Regions from separate parts of the Homo sapiens genome. Here all the other regions are linked to region 1. The links are contacts of gene promoters, found by promoter capture Hi-C in blood cells and fetal thymus (Javierre and others, 2016). All regions are on one chromosome and are shown on one strand. The core of a region is centred on a gene start or on the middle of the fragment in contact, and the rest is flanking DNA. Distances in the headings are between cores, read along the strand shown. Region 1 holds the start of PLEKHJ1 (pleckstrin homology domain containing J1). Region 2 overlaps GNG7 (G protein subunit gamma 7). Region 3 holds the start of KLF16 (KLF transcription factor 16). Region 4 overlaps GNG7 (G protein subunit gamma 7). Region 5 holds the start of ABHD17A (abhydrolase domain containing 17A, depalmitoylase). Region 6 has its middle 8.3 kb from the start of CSNK1G2.

Region 1 (3,163 bases), core at 425-2,924:
GCTGTGATCACGCCACTGCACTCCAGCCTCGGAAACAAAAGATCCTGTCTCAAAAATAAAGAGGGCCGGGTACGGTGGCTCAAGACCGTAATCCCAGCACTTTGGGAGGCCGAGGTGGGAGGATCACCTGAGGTCAGGAGTTCGAGAGCAGCCTGGCCAATATGGCGAAACCCCGTCTCTACTAAAAATACAAAAATTAGCTGGGCATGGTGGCGCGTGCCTGTAGTACCAGCTACTCGGGAGGCTGAGGCAGGAGAATCACTTGAACCCGAGAGGGGGAAGTTACAGGGAGCCGAGATTGCACCACTGCACTCCAGCCTGGGCGACATACCAAGACCCTGTCTCAAAAAATAAGCAAATAAAATAATAAAGTGAAGTAAAAAGGGGTTGTCAGGGTGGGCCCTAAATTCTGCTTGGCGTCTGTGTAGAAGGGGAAATGTGGGCACAGACGTGATGCAAGGAGGACAAGGTGACGCTTCCACAAGCCAAGGAACCTGGAGGATACTGGCCACCACTAGGAACTGGGAGATTCCCCTCGGCCTCAGAAGGATTCGGCCCCACCCACACCTTCATCTAGGATTTCTGGCCTCCAGAACTGTAGAGAATGTTTCTGATATTTAAGCCACCTGGCCTGTGGAATTTTGACAGCCACTCTGGGCAAACTAGCAGGGACTCCATCTTTCCCCGCAGAAGGGAATCTCTTAAGACCCAGGAGAACACCCCCCTCTCACTCCTCCTACCCCCACCTGGGATTTCCAGCCCGGGGCCATATAACAATGCTAGACCCATGCTACTCTTGGCAGCTGGGGAAACGCTTTGGGTGGGGCTGGCCCACCTGCCCTGTAAGTACAGCCTGGGCCCACAGGGAACAAAGAGCAGAGTCTGGGAGGGACCCAAGCTTAAGTGGACTCGGCAGGTGGGAAGGGTGGTGCCCGCCAGGAGAACTTGACCTTGAGCTGCCCGTGGACAATGCACTCTTGTGTTTGAGGAGGGTGGCGCCAGGCTGGGGACACAGAGGAGACCTTGGGCGCCCGGGGAGGGGAAAGTGCGGCGCTGCGGGTGCCCCGGGCTGCGGGAAGCGCCGCTGGCTTCCCTAGCCCCACTCACTGATGGAGAAGGTGCCGGGCTCTTCCCGGACGACTCTGCAGCGCTCCAGCAGCAGGGCTCCGACGGGCTGGAGGAGACACGGGCGCCGGGACGGGGCAGTGAGCACCCGGCCTCCGAGGGGCCCAGCCTGGGACCCGCCCGCGCGCCCGGGACGCCCCTACCTCGGCCTCGTCTGTCCGAAAGTAGAAGAGGAAATTCACCACCAGCTTCACCAGCCGCCGCTTCAGCACTGCGGGCACAGCGCGCACTCAGGGGCGCAGGCAGCCCCCGCCCGGACCCCGGCCTCCCGTCCCCGGCGCCCCGACCCGGACTCCGGCCTCCGGCACCCCCGCCCAGACCCCGGCCCCGGCCTCCCGCCCCTGGCACTGTCTCGGTCTCCCGGGTCCCGCTCACCGCTGCCCTTCTTGGGGCCCCTCATGCCCAGCTCGGCCGCCATCTCGGCCGGCTGCCGGGACAGAGCCTGCAGCTCCTTCTCGTTGTACCGCATGGCTCCGCGGGGAACGGGAACCCGGGCCGCGCCCTCCCGGCCGCCGTCCCCGCTCAGGCTGGGGCCGGCGCCAAAAATGTCTCAGGGCGCAGACACGGAAGCACCCCCAGGGCTAGTGCGCCTGCGCACCTTGGGCCAGCCATGCCGCCCGCCTCCGCTGCGTGGCGCTGGCGACCCGTGGCTGCTGGCGTGGGCGGGGTACCGGTTGGTAGGAGAGACGGACCGTTGTTACATAACCATTAAACTGAAATAAACCGGACCAAGGTGGAACAGAATCAAGGCACCCCAGCGATGGCTGGCACCCCTTTCTAGAGCGGCCAGGCGCAGGCGGAGGGAGCGATAACGTCGCCCGGAGAGTGTCAGCCGCTCCCTCGCGAAAGTTGGCCCCGTGCGGCCGCAGCGGACCGAGGGTTCGTTGAGAGCGTTGTGCGCACGCGCAGTTTGCCTTCCAGGCCGCGCTTTCAGCCTCTCCCCCTCCAGCCTTTTCCTTCGCGCCTCGGGACCCTCTGACTCACGCCGCTGGGCGGGCCAGGCATGCGCACACCAGAGGGCCCGTCTCATTTGCCCCGGAAGTGCTTTCTTTGCCCGCCGTTCGCCAAACGAAGTCGTGGAGGTGGCGAAACGAGGAGGAGATAACGCGGCCTTGGGCTCTGGTGAGGAGTAGAGGCGGTTGAGGGCGGCGGCCGACGCGGACCGGGGGTTCCCTGGGGGACAGCGGACGTAGGAGAGAGGCGCTTGCGACAGGCCGCGGGCCGAGGGTGGGGCGGCGGCGTCGCTCCCCTCCCTCCTCCCGTGAGCGTCCGGCCTTGTGCATCCTGAGGCCCCGCGCTGGGCGGGCCTGGAGGGTCGGGCCCGCCAGGAACTCTATTTCCAAACTCCTGTTGGGAGGCCGCGCGCGGGGCCTCACGCCTGTAATCTCACTGCTCAGGGAGGCCTTGGCGGGAGGATCGCTTGAGGCCAGGAGTTCGAGACCAGCCTGGACAACACACCGAGACCCCCATCTCTACAAAAAATTTTAAAAAATTAGCCAGGAGTGGTGGTTGTACCTGTAGGCCCAGCTACTCGAGAGGATCGCTTGAGCTCGGAATGTCGAGGCTGCAGTGAGCCATGATCCCACCACTGCACTCCAGCCTGGGCAACATAGCGAGACCCCATCACTGCAAAAAAAAAAAAAAAAAAAATTAGCCGGGCGTGGTTGGTGACGCGCGCCTGTAGTCCCAGCTACTCTGGAGGCTGAAGCGGGAAGATCGCTTGAGTCCAGGAGGTCGAGGCTGCAGTGAGTTGTGATTGTGCCGTTGCACTCCAGCCTGGACAACAGAGCAAGACCCTGTTTGACAAAATAAAAAAGAAACAACCAAGATTCGTTGGGGTCGAATCGGGATCGCGGCTGAAATGGTTTCGGCCGCCTTCCTTGTAGCCGAGAACGCTTCTGTATGCTCATCTATACCTGTTAGTTGACTGGGGCTCTGTGATGTAATTCCTGTGAGCCTCAGTTCCCTTAAAATGGGAGTGACGGCTTCAACATCATGCCAAAGGCGACCAGAACACGTTAGCTGGCCCCATTTTGCA
Region 2 (3,163 bases), core at 306-2,805, 400 kb after region 1:
GATGTCAAATGTAGATGGCAGGCACAGAGCTCAGCAGCACATCCACTCGCAGGAATTTAACTTAAACCTCAACCATCCAAGGGGAGGGATTCAGGAAGGAAGGAGAGAGGGAGGGAGGCAGGGAGTGGGGGAGGAGGGGGGGAAGGGAGGGAAGGGAGAGAAGGAGGGAGGGAGGGGGAGGAAGGAGGGGGGAAGGGGGAAGAAGGGAGGGAAGGAGAGGGTAAGGGAGGGAAGGAGAGGGTAAGGGAGGGAGGGAGGGAAGGAGGGAGGGAAGGAAGGAAGGGGAGGGAGAAAGGAAGGAAGGAGGGAGGGAGAGAGGGAAGGAGGGAGGGAGAAAGGAAGGAGGGAGTGAAGGAAGAAAGGAAGGAGGGAGAGAGGAAGGAGGGAAGGAAGGAGGGGGGAGGGAGGGAAGGAAGAAAGAAGAGAGGGAGGGAAGGAGGGAGGGGGAGGGAGGAAGGGAGGGAAGGAAGAAAGGAAGGAAGGAGGGAGGGAGAGAGGGAAGGAGGGAGGGAGGAAGGAAGGAGGGAGGGAAGGAGGGAGGGAGGGGAGGAGGGAGGGAGGAGGGAGGGAAGGAAGCGGCAGAGGGAGGGAGATAGAGATAGGAAGGAAGGAGAGAGAAGGGGGAGAGGGAGGAAGGCGAGAGAAAGAGAGAGGGAGAAGGAAAGAAAGAGAGAGGAAGGAAGGAGAGAGAGAGGAAGAGAGAAAGAAAGACATCAAGAAAAAGAGAGACATTCCAAAAGCCCAGCTAGGGGGACCAGTTAAACACATTATAAAATCATTTTTAAAGTGATAAGTCACCACCCCCTATCACACAGAGTGCCTTAACGAGCGTCAAGAATGAGGGTGGATGTCGAGGTTTCTCGACAAGGAAAGATGCCCAGTGATGGGAATGAGGAATGAGAGAATAGAACCCTCCTTGTGTGAAATCTACAGGTGAATGTAATTCACGAAAATCCCAGCACAGGCTTGGCAAGATGCTGAGGCCCATCGGTGCTGGGCTGGGGAACTTAGGGGCTTGGCCTTCTTTGTACTTTTCTTCATTTTACCTTTTTAGCTGTTGCTTTTTTTGGAGACAGGGTCTTGCCCTGTTGCCCAGGCTGGAGTGCAGTGGTGTGATCTCGGCTCACTGCACCACTCGATCTCCTAGGCTCAAGTGATCCTCCTGCCTCAGCCTCCAGTGTAGCTGGGACCACAGGTACACACTGTAACACCCAGCTAATTGTTTAATTTTTTTGTAGAGATGGGGTCTTGCTATGTTGCCCAGGCTAGTCTCACACTCCTGGGCTCAAGCCATCCTCCCGCCTTGGCCTCCCAAAGTGCTGCGATGACAGGCGTGAGCCACCACACCCAGGCTCTCACCAAGTTCTGACGTCAATCAGGGATCAAAGGGCTTCAGGCCAAACTGCCATCCCTAAAATGACCTGCTTGAGAAACTTAAGTCTATGAAATGAAGGGGAGGCACTCCAGAAACTGGCAGATGGTCCCCAGAGGTGGTACAAGAAGAAGGGACTCGGGTCCCGCAGCTGACCCTCAGTGGCTCTTAGCCTCGAGAACTCAGCCCTGCGATGGCCAGAGTTGCGCCCGGCAGATCCCCACGGGGAGCCTCTTCCTCTCTCCTTGAGGTCACAGGCAGGTGAGTGACCAGGCAAGGGAGGAAGTCGGCTCTGCTCACCCCTCCAGCCCATTCCCCATGTCAGCAGAAGGAACAGCAGGCTCCCAGCGACAGCCCCATCCTAACCCCAGAAGCCGTGGACAGGTCAGCTCCATGTCAAAAGGGACCGCAGATGGGATGAAGTTAAGGATCGTGAGATAGGATAGCATCCGGGGTGATCTGGGGGCCCCAATGTCCTCATAGCGTCCTCAGGAGAAGAGGCAGGAGGGTGAGAGTCAAACAGAGACTGGAAGAGGCTTCACTGTGGCTGTGAAGGGGGAGGAGGGGGCCCCGAGCCAAGGGATGTGGGTGCCTCTAGACGCTGGGAAATGCGGGAACCAGATTTTCCCCTGGAGCCCCAAGGAGGGACTGGCCTGCCCACACCTTGATTTTCCATGATTTTAGCCCAGTGAGGCCTATGTTAGACTTCTTTTTTTTTTATTTTTTCTTTTTTTGAGATGGAGTCTCACTCTGTCGCCCAGGCTGGAGTGCAGTGGCGTGATCTTGGCTCTGCAACCTCCGCCTCCCGGGCTCAAGCGATTTTCCTGCCTCAGCCTCCTGAGTGGCTGGGACTACAGATGCACACCACCACACCTGGCTGGTTTTTTTTGTATTTTTAGTAGAGATGGGGTTTCACCATGTTAGCCAGGATGGTCTCAAACTCCTGACCTCAGGTGATCCGCCCACCTCGACCTCCCAAAGTGCTGGGATTACAGGAGTGAGCCACCGCGCCTGGCCCTACGTTAGACTTCTGAGCTTCAGCGCTGTCAGATAATAACTGTGTGGGAGAAGCCGTTCTACATCAGTAGTCACTTGTTACGTCTGGGGCAGGAGGTGCCTACATCCACCAGTGCCCAAAGAGGATCTAGCAGCTCCGATCCAGGCCCTCGGGGCTTAGTGGGCAGCCCCACCAGCCCACAGCCTGCCTGCCAGGGAGCTGTTCTCACAGACCCCCACCATGGGACACGTGTTTCTGGGACAGGTCATGGAGAACGATGACCCCATCACGGGCAGTCTTTCCAAAAGGGCCCACGGGAGATCAGAAATCGCAATGTTTCTTGCTGAGAATTGCCGTATCCTAGCTTGCAAACACTATTAGCTCCGCAGCTGCTAGCGTTTCCCTGTCGAAATGAATGGGGTTATTTGTTTCTGTTTTTTAGACAGGGTCTGGCTCTGTTGCCCAGGTTGGAGTGCAGTGGTGCAATCATAGCCCACTGCAGCCTCGACCTCCGGGGCTCAAGCGATCCTCCCACCTCAGCCTCTTCAGTAGCTGGGATTTCAGGTGTGCACCACCACGCCTGGCTAATTTCTGTATTTTTTGTAGAGATGGGGTTTCACCATGTTGCCTGGGCTGGTCTCAAACTCTCAGGCTCAAACGATCCTCCCCACTTCAGCCCCCCACTAGCAGGGACTACAGGTGCGTGCCACCATACCTGTCTAATTTTCTGTAGAGTTTAGGATATCGCTCTGTTGACCAGGCTGATCTCAAACTCCTGGGCTCAAGCCATCCTC
Region 3 (3,163 bases), core at 276-2,775, 370 kb before region 1:
CCAGAATGCCAAGCCCAAGGGCAGCCGCACAGCTTTCCCCCAGCCCCCCACCCTCCCCGGAAGGGACAAGCACCTCTAATGCCCAAACCAGGGCCGGCCATCAAGGCCCACCGTCCCCTGTTGCCCAGTCCAAACTCCCAGTCCAGAAAGTGGAACCCTAGGAGGGGACGGAGTGAAAAAATACAGCCAGGCCCACCAGGCTCCCGGTTCCCCTCGCCGCCCCGGGGACTGCGCTAGGAGGGGCGTTGGTGTAGCCGAAGCGCTCCAACTACGCGCACCTTCCCGAATCGCCCGCCAGGTAGGGGTGAACAAACACGCCAGGGAAATACAGCAGTGTGGACCCGAGCCCCTCGAGGGTCCTCCAATACTATGAAGTTCCCCCGCCCAGACTCAGGCCCCAACCCGCGCTCCTAGCCTCGCCCTCCCCCTCGTTAAAATACAGAGAACGCAGAGAAAACGTGCCGGGCTCCCCCCATCCTGGCCCCACGCCAGGTGCTCTGCCGACCTCTGGGGAGAATCCGCGCGGCCACCCCGGCGGCGGCGACGCGGTTCCTCCTCCATTTTCACAGATAAGGAAACTGAGGCTGGGGGAGGGGGAGAACCCAGAACCCCAGAGCCGGATGCTCCAACCACGGTGCCCACCGCCCAGACCAGAACGCAAAAGAAAAAAAAAAAAACGGAACAAGGCCCAGAAAGGGAGAGAGGTGGTCTGCCCAGGAGTCTCAATCCCGCCCGCAGACCTCGCTGGGCCCCCGGAGCCCCCGCCACTGCCGCCGGGGCGGCCATCCGCTCGCCGCCCGACCGCGTGGCCGCCACGCCCCCCGCGCGCGCCCCACCCACCGAGGCCCCGCCCTGCCGGCCGGCGCGGCGGCGGCCCGGGCGCGCCCCCCTCCCCGCCCCCCACGCGCCACGCAGTTTCGGGGTCCTGGCGGGGGAGGGGTCTCAGGCGGCCGCCCCCGCAAGGGCCGGGATCGCGGCTGCACTCACCTGTGTGCGTCCGCAGGTGCGACTTTAGGTGCGAGGACTTGTAGTAGGCTTTGGCGCAGTCCGGGAAGGGACAGCGGTGGCTCTTGGCGGCGGCGGAGGGCGCGGCGCCGGGGGCGCGGCCCGAGGACGGGGACGAGGCGGCTGAGGAGGAGGAGGCGGGCGAGGCGCCCCCCGGGGCGGCTCCGGGTCCGCCGCGCAGGTCGGCCAGGATGCTGGCGGCCAGCAGGTGGGGCGCCGCGGCGGCGCCGGGGCCCGGGCCAGAAGCGGCGGGGGGCGGCGGGGGTGGCCCCGGGGTCCCGGGTGAGGCGGCCTCGCGGCGCGCCGCGCGCACATCCAGGCCGGCGGCGGGGCCCGCGCCCTCGGGGCCGGGCCGCCCGCGGTGCACCACGGCGCCCGAAGAGATGGCCATGAGCACGTCGGCGGCGAAGTAATCCACGCACGCCACGGCCGCCGACATGCCGAGCAAGGGCGCGCGGCGCGGCGGGCGGAGCGGAGGCGGCGGGAGCGGCGTCCGTCCGGCCGGCGGCGGCTGCTCGAGTGCGGGAGGCGGAGGAGGAGGAGGAGGAGGCCCGGCGCGCGCCGCCGCCGACGCCCGCGCTCGGCCTGCCCCGCCCCGCCTGACGCGTCCTGACGCACCGGAGCCCGCGGGGGCGGCCACAGCCCGCCCCGCCCGGAGGACGCCCCCTCGGGGCGCCGCAGCCACGCCCCCCGCCCGGCGCGCCCTCCACCACTCTCCGAGCCGCGCGCGGCCGCCGGGGGCGGGGCTCGGGCCGGAGGAACCCGCCCCCCGGCGCGCCCACTCCGGCCTCCGCCAGCGCCTAGCGTCTTAGGCCCGGAGCGCGCCTTCTCCGCGCTAGGGTGCAAGGCCGGGAGCCCCGCCCCCTCCCGGCGCGCCCCACTCCAGCGCGCGCCCCCGTACCCTTTCCCGGAGCACCACCCCCTCAAGCCGGGGCGGGAGGCCGAGGACCCCGCCCCCTCTCCGGCACGCCCCTCCTTCCGAGAGCGCGCCCCGCCCCATCCCGGCACGCCCCTCCCTCCCAGAGCGCGCCCCGCCTCCTCGCTGGCGCGCCCACCCCACGCCGGGGCGCGCGGCCGGCGGGAGCCCGCCCCCTCCCCGGATGCTTCCCTCCTGGCCCCGGGCGCGCCCCCGTTCGCGATGGAGGAGGGCTCCGATCCCCACGTGGCCGGGGTTGGAGGGGTGCGGAAGCGGCCGGCCCCGCCCCCAGGCCACGTGCGCGACCCTTCCCCCCTCTTCTCCCGGCCTGGGGCCCTGCTTTGACCCCGCACTCAGGCATCTGCTCGTCCTCTTCTCTGGGGTTCCCCCTCGCCGCTCACAGAGCCCCTCGGAGCCTCCCGGCCGAGACACCCGGTATCCCGCGCCCGCGGCGGGGCCCGGGAGGGTGGGGCAAGGCTGCGTTCGTTCCTCTTTTTGCACCCAGTTCCGGAGCTACTAGAGCGCGCCCCACTGGGGGTGGGGAGGGCCGGTTGGGTCCCAGAGGGTCGGGATAGGGGGACGGGAAGAGGGGGCCGAACGCAAAGGGCTGGGCTGGGCTGGGGGCGCCTGAGCGGGTCAGAGGTTCCCCGCCCTGCTGGGACACCGGGGTCCGGGGCTTCTCTTTCCATTCCCAGGCATCGATTCTTGGGGTTCGGACGGGAAAACTGAGGCCAGGTATTCGGGCCTCCCGGCCGCGAGGACGTCCAGGCCAACTTGTTAAATATTAGGGGGGACACCAGGGACGCGGATGGCCCAGTTCGCAGGCCCAAGGCGGCGGGGGCACAGAAACTGGGCGGCCCCCCTCGGTCGCGACCGCGCTCCCGCCCCTTCCCAGCTCCGGCGGGGCGGCGGGGACTGCGCAGTGGCCGGAGCTGCCTCCAGGGGGCGGAGCTGCTTTGGCCTGCGGCGACCTCCTGCTCTGGGTTGGGCATGGACAGAGGCCCTGACCCGATTCGGGGCTTCTCTAGCCCCATCCCCCGCCCACCTGCAACCCCAGCTGACGCCCTGAGGCTGACCACTGTTCCCTGGGTCGCCCGCACTGCGCCTGGGCTCAACCATGCTTGGTTAAGCCAGCTGAGCCCTCCCTGGGCCCCAGTAAGCCCACTCTACGTGGCTGGACAGAGCGGAGCCGAGAGAGAGGAGGTTCAGCGAAGTGTGGGAGGGTACAGGGTGCCCTGCACA
Region 4 (3,163 bases), core at 408-2,907, 370 kb after region 1:
TGGTCCCCCACCAAAAGGGTCTCAGAGACCAACCCCTGGGTGTCCCTGGACCACACTTTGAGAACTCCAATACACAGGTATTCTCTCTACTTCACAGAAGAGAAAATGCGATCCAAGATGGTAATAAACCTGCTCAAGTCCTCAAAGCTGAAAAGTACGGCTGAAGGAGAATAAAAAAGAGAAACATAAAGCAGTTGTGGTGGTGTGTGCCTGTGCTCCCAGCTACTTGGGAGGCTGAAGTGGTAGGATCGCTTGAGCCCGGGAGTTTGAGGCTGCAGTGAGCTAGGATCACGCCACTACACTCCAGCCTGGGTGACAAGGAGAGACCTCCCCCCCGCCACCATCTCCAAAAACAAATTATTACTTATGTAAAAAATAGAACTAAGGAAGGTTTGCTTGACTCCAAAGCTGTGTTCTTTGCATCCATTCTAGTTCCATCCAGATGGCCCGGGGTACAGCTGGGATGCCTGTTGTCCCTAAAAACCATGGGGCACAAGTAGGTAAACCCTAGAGTAGGTAACTCCTCAATTCAGCTCAACCACTATCTGACCAGCCTCCAGTTACCAGGCAGTGTGTTTCCCCAGCCATGTGGACTCAGTCCTGCCACGGCGCGGCTCGTGCCTATTGCAGATACATGTACATGCTTGCAATATACGTGTCTGTCTCCCCTGCTCTACAATGAGCTCCCCAGGAACAAGGACTGGGCAATTTTTTTTGGCTTCCTGTCTCCACTGTTTGGCAGCAGGAAAAGAGAGGTGCCTGAAGAAAGGGTAACAGAGCAATGCAATCCCCCGATGTCAGATTTTTATTGAGGAAAAGAAAGGCAGTGAAGGCCGGGCATGGTGGCTCACGTCTGTAATCCCAAGCACGTTGGGAGGCCGGGGCAGGAGGATCCCTTGAGCCCAGGAGTTCGAGACCAGCCTGAGCAACATGGCGAGACCCTGTCTTTATAAAAAAATTAGCCGGGCATGGTGGTGTGAGCCTGTAGTCCCAGCTACTAGGGAGGTTGAAGCGGGAGGCTCACTTAAGGAGGCTGAGGTTGCAGTGAGTTATGATTTCATCACTGCACTTCAGCCTGGGCCACAGAGTAAGACCCTGTCTCAGAAAGAAGAAAAGAGAAGACAGGGGAGGGGAGGGGAGGAGAGGAGAGGGGAGGAGAGCAGTGGAATCCCAGATGATCCTTCCAGAATCTGCAAGCAGCACTGTGGAGGCACCCTGGGGAAGAAAGTCTGCTAGGATCTGGAGAAGCACTAGAAGCCGGGCACAGTGGCTCACGCCTGTAATCCCAGCACTCTGGGAGGCCGAGATGGGCAGGTCACCTGAGGTCAGGAGTTCGAGACCAGCCTGGCCAACATGGTGAAACCCCGTCTCTACTAAAAATGCAAAAATTAGCCGGGCGTGGTGGTGCACGCCTGTAATCTCAGCTACTTGGGAGGCTGAGACAGGAGGATTGCTTGAACCCGGGAGGCAGAGGTTGCAGTGAGCTGAGATCGCGCCACTGCACTCCAGCCTGGGCGACAGAGCGAGACTCCGTCTCAAAACAACAACAGAAAAAGCAGCACTGAGGACTGGGCTGCGGGCTGCGTCCTCTGCAGGCCCTGGCTCCCCTGTACCCACCCCCTCCTGCACGCTTTTAAGCAGATCCAGCACTCCCTTCAGGGCGCTGGGGAGGAGCTGCCAGCAGACAGGAATGCGCTGTGCAGAAGCAGCAGGTTCTGCCAGCTCCTCCCGAGCCTGCAGGGAAATGCAGGCAGATCTGTGGCCTCGCACAGGCGGACAGACGGGCAGCAGGGATCTCCAACCGGGCCCCGGAGCACGAACCACTACGCAATCGTCACAGCATGTGCTACCTTCCGTGGTGTTCTGGGAATCTAAATCAATCCCATACGCTGGACAGCAAGCCAGAAACGGAAGCCAATCTCGGGCTGGGCAGAGGGCCACCCGGCCCTCCCCTCACCACCACCCCTCCCTTTTCCTTCAATCAGAATTGCCTTTTATAGGCAGGTTGATAGTTCACAGCTGGAAGGGGGCTCACTGCGGCTCTGCAAGGAAAGATGCGCTACCCACCCTTTTCTCTCTTTCTCTTTCTTTTTCTCTTTTTCTTTCTTTCTTTCTTTCTTTCTTTTTGTTTCTTCCTTTCTTCCTTTCTTTCTTTTCTTTCTCTTTCTTTCTTTCTCTCTCTCTTTCCTTCCTTCCTTTCTTTTCTTTCTCCCTTTCCTTTCCCCTTCCTTCCTTCCCTTTCTTTCTTTCTTTTTCTCTTTTCTGTTCTGTTCTGTTCTTTTTTTTGATGGAGTTTCGCTCTTGTTGCCCAGGCTGGAGCACAATAGCACAGTCTTGCCTCACTGAAACCTCCGCCTCCCGGGTTCAAGCGATCCTCCTGCCTCAGCCTCCCGAGTAGCTGGGATTACAGGTGCGCACCACCATGCCTGGCTAATTTTTGTATTTTTAGTAGAGACGGGGTTTCACCGTGTTAGCCAGGGTGATCTCGATCTCCTGACCTCGTGATCCACCCGCCTCGGCCTCCCAAAGTGCTAGGATTACAGGCGTGAGCCGCCGTGCCCGGCCTAAAGCTGTGTTCTTTCTGTTCCACAGGCTGCAGAGAGGGAGCTGATGCCAGAATGAGGGGGAACCCCCGGAGCTTCTCGCATCGGGTGGGACCGGCATCCGGTGAGACCGCGGTGGCTCTCTGGGGCTGAAAATTCCAAGCAGAGTAGCCCGAGGAATCCAGCCATCCCCGAGGGTTCAGAAATGCAAATCAGGGCTGTGTATTCACAGCCTGGACTGGAGATCGACCAAAAACTATGCAGGGCTCACCCTTGCGGGGCGGCGGCTAAATTTAGGAAACCAACCATCTGGAGAATGCAGGCATCAGAAGCCCCTGCAGCTAGGAGGATCATTTCAGTTCATTTTTATTCACTGTTCATAGATCTCCCAGTTTTTCCTAGCGTGTTCAAGCTGGAAAGGATTTCAGAGATTGTGTCACCTAGATTTATTTTACAGAAGGAGGAACTAAGCGTTTAAGGGAGAAGTGCCTGTTCTTTTATTATTATTATTATTATTTTATTTTTTGAGACAGAGTCTCGCTCTGTCACCCAGGCTGGAGTGCAGTGGTGCAATCTCGGCTCACTGCAAGCTCTGCCTCCTGGGTTCACGCCATTCTCCT
Region 5 (3,163 bases), core at 351-2,850, 350 kb before region 1:
TCCGCATTCCGGCTCAGGCCGACCTCTCCAGACTCACTCATCTCACACCCTGCCACTCCTGGCTCCCTCAAGACAAGCCAAATTGCCCCTTCCTGCCTCTGCTCCTCTGCCAGGAACTCCCTTCCCCAACCTCACTAGACAGCCTTGCCCAACCCAACCACCCTTTGCACCTCACTGCCAACGCTCTCAGAGTCCTCAAAGCTGGGACAGGACCCCTTACACGCTCTTTCCACAGCTTGTATTTTTCACACGTTTGGCCAGATCTCCCCCCACCTCCAAACCAGAAACTCTATGAGAGCAGGACCATGACCTGCCACTCACTAAAGGAATGGGCAGGTGGTAGGCAGCACAGAATTAAGGAGGAAGCACAGGAGGAAAAGAATCCCCAAGGTCCGCCAGCTTTGACAGGGAAGGGAAAGTCTAGTCTCCTCTCCTCTCCAGCCACAGGTACCTGGAACCTCCCTAGTGTCACTAATGGGCGTGGACTGGGGAGTGCAAACCCAGACGCCTCACTCACTGGGCACACACCCTTGACACCCTGAATCCCACCAATTCCGTTCCCACGCACTTAACTGGGCAACCCTCTGCAAGCTAGAGGTGTTCTGAGGACCAGCAAGCAACCGAGCAGCCAAAATACTGGAAGATGACCTACATATGGGAGACGGTGACTGCACCTCACTCAACCAGTCAGGGTGGGAAACCCGCCTGGGGGGAGGCGCGGCCATATCAGAGGGCAGACAAACGGGCCAGGTGACAGGGGGATGGGACAGAGGGACAAGCAGGAGCAAAATCCGAGGTGACAGAGCAGGCTCCTGGCTAGAGCAGACCCTGGGAGGAAGAAGTGAGCAGAAGGGTCCTAAGAGAGAGCCTGGGACGGGTGAGGTCGCGCCCCCGAGAGTTTGCACTTCATCCTGGGAGAAATGGCGGGGCCGCGAAGAAGTCCCGAGCAAGCGATGGACAACATAGGAGAAGGGCTGCATCCCGGAGAACGGACGCGAGCGGAGGCCGGGAAGCCCGCCCAGGAGTCAGGGTGGCAGGAAGAAGCCTGACAAGGGAAACAGCGACTGGGAGCTGGTTGGGAAGCAGGGCTCGGGAGGGCCCCTGGGAGCTGCCTTGGGGGGCGAGAGGCCGAAGCGTTTGTCGGACTGGGGGCAGTTTCGGGGCAAAAGAGCGGAATCCGCGGCTCGGACGGGTGCTCCCCGAAGGCAAGGGCCGCGTCCGCAGGAGGGTGGGAGCGCAACCCACGCCGGAGGGCTGAATGGATGGGGACAGGGCTTTCCCAATCACAGACGCTCATCCGCGGTCCGCGCCCCTGCTCTGGGCTCCTCGGGCAGGACCCGCGGAAGCCCTGGGACTGCAGGGGTCTCGGGGACGTCCAACCGGGCTGTCAGGCCCTCGAGGCCCGGCCCGGGACCCCGCGCGGCCGCGCCCGCCCCCGCCCCTGCCCGGCACTCACCACCCCGGCCCGCGCCCCCGGGCCCCAGGGCCGCGCTCCATGGCTCCCGGCCGCCCGCCCGTGCGTCCGTCGGTCCCTCCGCACCCCTGCCCGGCCTCCTGCACCGCCACCGCCGCAGCTCCCCCCACGGACGGAAGTGAGCCTCGTTCTCACCACCGCCCCGGAAGTGACGCGAGGAGCGCGCGGGGCGGGGGTCTGCAGGCACAGAGCGACCGCGCGACTAGCGTCCTGGGGGCGGGGCTGATATGTCGAGGGGCGTGGCCTGCTGCTCTGTGGGCGGGGCCAAACTTAGGTTTCATTCACTTGGGGACCCGGAATAGGTTGAGGCCAGTAAAGTTCTCGCCTGGAAAACAAAATTTACAGGGACGCCAAAAAAAACTCAGACATCAACATTTAGAAATGTTTTAAAATATTTTTCTTTATGAGATGGAGTCGCGCTCTGTCGCCCAGGCTGGAGTACAATGGCGCGATCTCAGCTCACTGCAACTTCTGCCTCCTGGGATCAAGCGATTCTCCTGCCTCAGCCTCCTGAGTAGCTGGGATTACCGGCGCCCACCACCATGCCCAGCTAATTTTTGTGTTTTCAGTAGAGACGGGGTTTCCCCATGTTGGCCAGTGTGGCCTCGAACTCCTGACCCCAGAATCCTCCTGCCTCAGCCTCCCAAAGTGTTGGGATTACAGGCATCAGCCACCGCACCTGGCCTCTTTTTTTTAACATAGAGTCTACTCTGTCACCCAGGCTGGTGCCATCATAGCTCACTGCAGCCTCGACCTCCCAGGATCAAGTGAACCTCCTACTTCAGCCTCCTGAGTAGCTAGGACTATAGGCACAAGCCACCATGACCAGCTTATTTAAAGTCTTTATATATTGCTCATCAGAAATTCTTTTGCATTAGTTTTTAAAATATTACATTAGGCCGGGCACGGTGGCTCATGCCTGTAATCCCAGCACTTTGGGAGACTGAAACAGGTAGATCACCTGAAGTCAGGAGTTTGAGACCAAGCCTGACCAACGTGGTGAAACCCTGTCTCTACTAAAAATACAAATATTAGCCGGGCATGGTGGCACGCGCCTGTAGTCCCAGCTACTCCGGAGGCTGAGGCAGGAGAATCGCTTGAACCCGGGAGGCGAAGGTTGCAGTGAGCCAAGATCGGGCCACTGTGCTCCAGCCCAAGTGACAGAGCAAGAAGACTGTCTCAGATAAATAAATAAATAAATAAATAAATAAATAAATAAATAAATAAAACTATGATCACTCCACTGCATTCCAGCCTGGGCGAGAGAGCAAGATCCTGTCTCTTAAAAAAATTTCATTATGGGCTGGGCGCGGTGGCTCACGCCTATAATCCCAGCACTTTGGGAGGCCGAGTCGGGCAGATCATGAGGTTAGGAGATCAAGACCATCCTGGCTAACACGGTGAAACCTCATCTCTACTAAAAATACAAAAAGATAGCCGGGCGTGGTGGCGGGCGCCTGTAGTCCCAGCTACTCGGGAGGCTGAGGCAGGAGAACGGCGTGAACCCAGGAGGCAGAGCTTGCAGTGAGCTGAGACCGCGCCACTGCACTCCAGACTGGGCGACAGAGCGAGACTCCGTCTCAAAAAAAAAAAAAATTGCATTATGGCAGGGCCTAGTGGCTCACGCCTGTAATCTCAGCACTTTGGGAGAACGAGGCAGGCAGATCACCTGAAGTTAGGAGTTCAGCC
Region 6 (3,163 bases), core at 225-2,724, 300 kb before region 1:
CTTCCCAGGTTCAAGAGATTTCCCTGCCTCAGCCGCCCAAGTAGCCAGGACTACAGGCGCCCGCCACCACACCCAGCTAATTTTTGTGTATTTTTAGTAGAGATTGGGTTTCACCATATTGGCCAAGCTGGTCTCAAACCCCTGACCTCAGGTGATCTGCCTGCCTCAGCCTCCCAAAGTGCTGGGATTACAGGCATGAGCCATGGCTCCCAGCCTCTTCTTTTTTATTAAAAAAAATAATAATTTGTTTTTGCTTAATTTATTTCACCAGTCATATCACAAAGACATGTGTTGTTTTAGGCCACTGAGTTTGGTATAATTTGTTATGCAGCAGTAGCTGACTGATACAATAGGTGTTCCTGGATTATCTTCAGAAACCTGATAATAATATGTACACTAACTAGGGCTGTATCAGGGTGCATGGCAGGGTTTTTGAAGGCATTTTAAAGAGGTTTAGTTCCTGTCCTCAGGAGCTGCTGCCTAGTGGGGCAGACAGACCATGAATATCCATCATGGAAGGCAGAACACATAAGTACATGGACGAAAGCAGTTCCAGAGGCTGGTGGGTTGGATTCATTTGGCCTGATGTATCATGGAGTCCTCCCAAAAGAGGTGATCATCTGCCTGAGCTTTGCCAGACCTGTTGGGCTGAGAGAAGCCAGACAAGGCTCAGATGGGTGGAGGGTCAGGGTGGGTTGGAAAGGAACAAGTCAGTATGGGTGCAGAGGGCGTCCTGATGGATAGATGGGGCTGCGAAGTGGAACCAGCCATTGAGGCAGCCTCGAATGCTGTCCCCATTGTGGGGACTTTGAAAAGCCACCCTCCTTTGAAACACAGAAGGGGCAAGGAGTAAATTTATATTTCTTTTTTTCTTTTTTTTTGTTTTGAGACGGAGTCTCACTCTGTCACCCAGGCTGGAGTGCAGCGGCACCATCTTGGCTCACTGCAAGCTCTGCCTCCTGGGTTCACGCCATTCTCCTGCCTCAGCCTCCCAAGTACCTGAGACTACTGGCGCCCGCCACCATGCCTGGCTAATTTTTTGTATTTTTAGTAGAGACGGGGTTTCACCATGTTAGCCAGGATGGCCTCGATCTCCTGACCTCGTGATCTGCCTGCCTCAGCCTCCCAAAGTGCTGAGATTACAGGCATGAGCCACCGCGCCCGGCCAATTTATATTTCTGGTAAGGGGTGGGAAGAAGGAGCTTTCTCAGGCTGGAGGGGAGAGAAGACAGATGAGCACAGACACTCCTGGCAGCGGCATGAGGGCCGGGGAGCAGGTGCAGGGCACAGCGGGGCTCTGCAGGGCGGTTGTAGTTGGTGAGGACCACTGGAGCAGGGCCTTGAAGGGCGTCACCCCTCACCTGGCTGCCTCTGGGCCATCCTCCAGTCTGCCAGGGACTAGCAGAGGGGAGAAAGTGGGAGAGGAATCATTATTTGATGACCTCATTCAGCCCTAGGGATTTGGGGTGGCTAAGGTAGAATGGCAGTGGATTATATCTGACATGATGCGGGGTGTCCGGGCTCAGCTGGGCAGTTCTGCTCCCTGTGGTGATGGGGGGTAATCAGCAATCATTTAGTGGCTTTCCCTGGCCGGGAATGTTTGAGGTAGCTCACTCACAGGGCTGGCAGGTGGTGCCTGCTCAGTGGTGCCATCACCCAGGGGCTTCCAGGTGGCTGCCTCACAAGATGGCAGCTGGGTTCCAAGCAGAAAGGACGCTGTTGAGTTCTTTTTTTTTTTTTTTTTTTTTTGAGACACAGTCTCACTCTGTCACCCAGGCTGGAGTGTAATGGCGCAGTCTCGGCTCACTGCAACCTCCACCTCCCAGGTTCAAGTGATTCTACTGCCTCAGCTTCCCGAGTAGCTGGGATTACAGGTGCCCACCACCACGCCCAGCTAATTTTGTATTTTTAGTAGAGACAGGGTTTCACCGTGCTGGCTAGGCTGGTCTCAAACTCCTGACCTCGGGTGATCTGCCCGCCTCGGCCTCCCCAAGTGCTGGGATGACAGGTGTAAGCACCATGCCCAGCCTACTGTCGAGCTCGTAAGACCCTCCCTCAGAAGTCTCAAGGCACCACTTCCCCTGCCTTCTGTTGCTAAAACAGGTCACAGGAGCAGCTACATTCAGGGGAGGGGAAATGAACTGTGTCTTTCCGTGGGAGGAGCAGCAAAGAATCTGTGACCATCACACCCAGCTTTTGAACCACTTCTTCTTTGTGTCTCAGTGTTTGTGGCATGCAGCATCCCTGTTGCCTGGGTCCAGGATGCCACCCTCCTACTGGGGTTGCAGCACCAAGGGGCTGGGCATTCCATCGAGCTGAGGGGTGGGGGCTCTGGATGGGAGGCTCCCTGGGGGGAGCTCACATCTTCCATGAAGCATCATGGTCATTGTTGCCCTGTCCTGCACCCTGTCCACTGCAGGCTGCCCTCTGTGGCTGGCCTTGGTGACAAGAGATGTGGGAGAGACCCTGGTCACCACCATGGGAGGAGTCCCCAGGCACCAGGGGCAAATGAACAGAGTGAATGCCAGGAGGACCATTTAGGTGCAATATGACCAAAAATAAGTTAAGTCCAAGTGGGCTGCATCATCAACAAGAACATCCCCCAGCCTCCATGAAACAGCCCAAAACCTGGAGCAAGACGGTTCCCTGACGCTGAGCGATGCCATTCACAGCAGCGTTCCTGAATACCCCCCATGCAGGCACTCACATGCTCACACACACAATACACAAACCAACACACACCACACACAGGCATGCCAAACACAGGCACACAAATGCACACCCCCCCATAGACCCACCGACGAACACACACACACACACCCAGATGCACAGGTGCGCACACACACCCACGCACACAAAGACCCAGAGACAGACATGTGCACACACATACATATGCACACATGTACGCAGATACATATGACACAAATGCATGAACACATGGACCACACATACCAACATGCCACCTCACACAGACACACCTAACACACACACACCCGTGCACACATGTACATGGACATACACACTGGAAAACAACAAACACATATACAAAATGCAGGCCGGTTGCGGTGGCTCATGCCTGTAATCCCAACACTTTGGGAGGCCGAGGCAGGGGGATCACTTGAGCCTGGGAAGTGAGGGCTGCAGTGAGCTATGATTGAATCTC

What was found. The method cuts DNA at HindIII sites, captures the fragments that hold promoters and counts their contacts. A CHiCAGO score of 5 or more calls a contact.
Region 2: a fragment that was not itself captured here is called in contact with the fragment with the promoter of PLEKHJ1 in region 1 in 1 of 17 cell types (naive B cells); the score reaches 5.6 in naive B cells.
Region 3: a contact is called between the fragment with the promoter of KLF16 here and the fragment with the promoter of PLEKHJ1 in region 1, in 1 of 17 cell types (monocytes). The highest score is 6.3, in monocytes.
Region 4: a contact is called between a fragment that was not itself captured here and the fragment with the promoter of PLEKHJ1 in region 1, in 1 of 17 cell types (total B cells). The highest score is 7.1, in total B cells.
Region 5: a contact is called between the fragment with the promoter of ABHD17A here and the fragment with the promoter of PLEKHJ1 in region 1, in 3 of 17 cell types (monocytes, neutrophils and fetal thymus). The highest score is 8.2, in monocytes.
Region 6: a fragment that was not itself captured here is called in contact with the fragment with the promoter of PLEKHJ1 in region 1 in 2 of 17 cell types (neutrophils and monocytes); the score reaches 5.9 in neutrophils.

The regions. Positions count from the first base shown.
Region 1 is chr19:2,234,655-2,237,817 of GRCh38, forward strand. It overlaps PLEKHJ1 (pleckstrin homology domain containing J1), which reads right to left and starts at 1,675. Exons shown (of 6, transcript NM_018049.3): 1 at 1,501-1,675; 2 at 1,269-1,336; 3 at 1,108-1,174. The coding sequence starts at 1,594. It overlaps SF3A2 (splicing factor 3a subunit 2), which reads left to right and starts at 2,170. Exons shown (of 9, transcript NM_007165.5): 1 at 2,170-2,247. It overlaps MIR6789 (microRNA 6789), which reads right to left and starts at 1,272; the gene lies at 1,175-1,272. RefSeq lists enhancers at 1-479, 482-1,090, 1,699-2,307, 1,886-1,935 and silencers at 1,116-1,745, 2,356-2,455. The HindIII fragment of the contact is 3,950 bases long and covers 897-3,163 here.
Region 2 is chr19:2,639,576-2,642,738 of GRCh38, forward strand. All of the region lies in intron 2 of GNG7 (G protein subunit gamma 7), which reads right to left. Among named protein-coding and RNA genes, the nearest start is that of MIR7850, 10 kb to the left of the region's middle. The HindIII fragment of the contact is 7,333 bases long and covers 1-3,163 here.
Region 3 is chr19:1,862,054-1,865,216 of GRCh38, forward strand. KLF16 (KLF transcription factor 16) reads right to left here and starts at 1,526. Exons shown (of 2, transcript NM_031918.4): 1 at 988-1,526. The coding sequence starts at 1,444. RefSeq lists silencers at 769-938, 989-1,168, 1,499-2,598, 2,669-2,888, a promoter at 1,415-2,619 and an enhancer at 3,062-3,163. The HindIII fragment of the contact is 13,147 bases long and covers 1-3,163 here.
Region 4 is chr19:2,600,800-2,603,962 of GRCh38, forward strand. The region is part of intron 2 of GNG7 (G protein subunit gamma 7); the gene reads right to left. Among named protein-coding and RNA genes, the nearest start is that of MIR7850, 28 kb to the right of the region's middle. RefSeq lists an enhancer at 2,492-3,163. The HindIII fragment of the contact is 7,209 bases long and covers 1-3,163 here.
Region 5 is chr19:1,883,896-1,887,058 of GRCh38, forward strand. ABHD17A (abhydrolase domain containing 17A, depalmitoylase) reads right to left here and starts at 1,601. Exons shown (of 5, transcript NM_001130111.2): 1 at 1,457-1,601. RefSeq lists a silencer at 866-1,013. The HindIII fragment of the contact is 20,961 bases long and covers 1-3,163 here.
Region 6 is chr19:1,931,291-1,934,453 of GRCh38, forward strand. No RefSeq gene overlaps it. Among named protein-coding and RNA genes, the nearest start is that of CSNK1G2, 8.3 kb to the right of the region's middle. The HindIII fragment of the contact is 7,321 bases long and covers 1-3,163 here.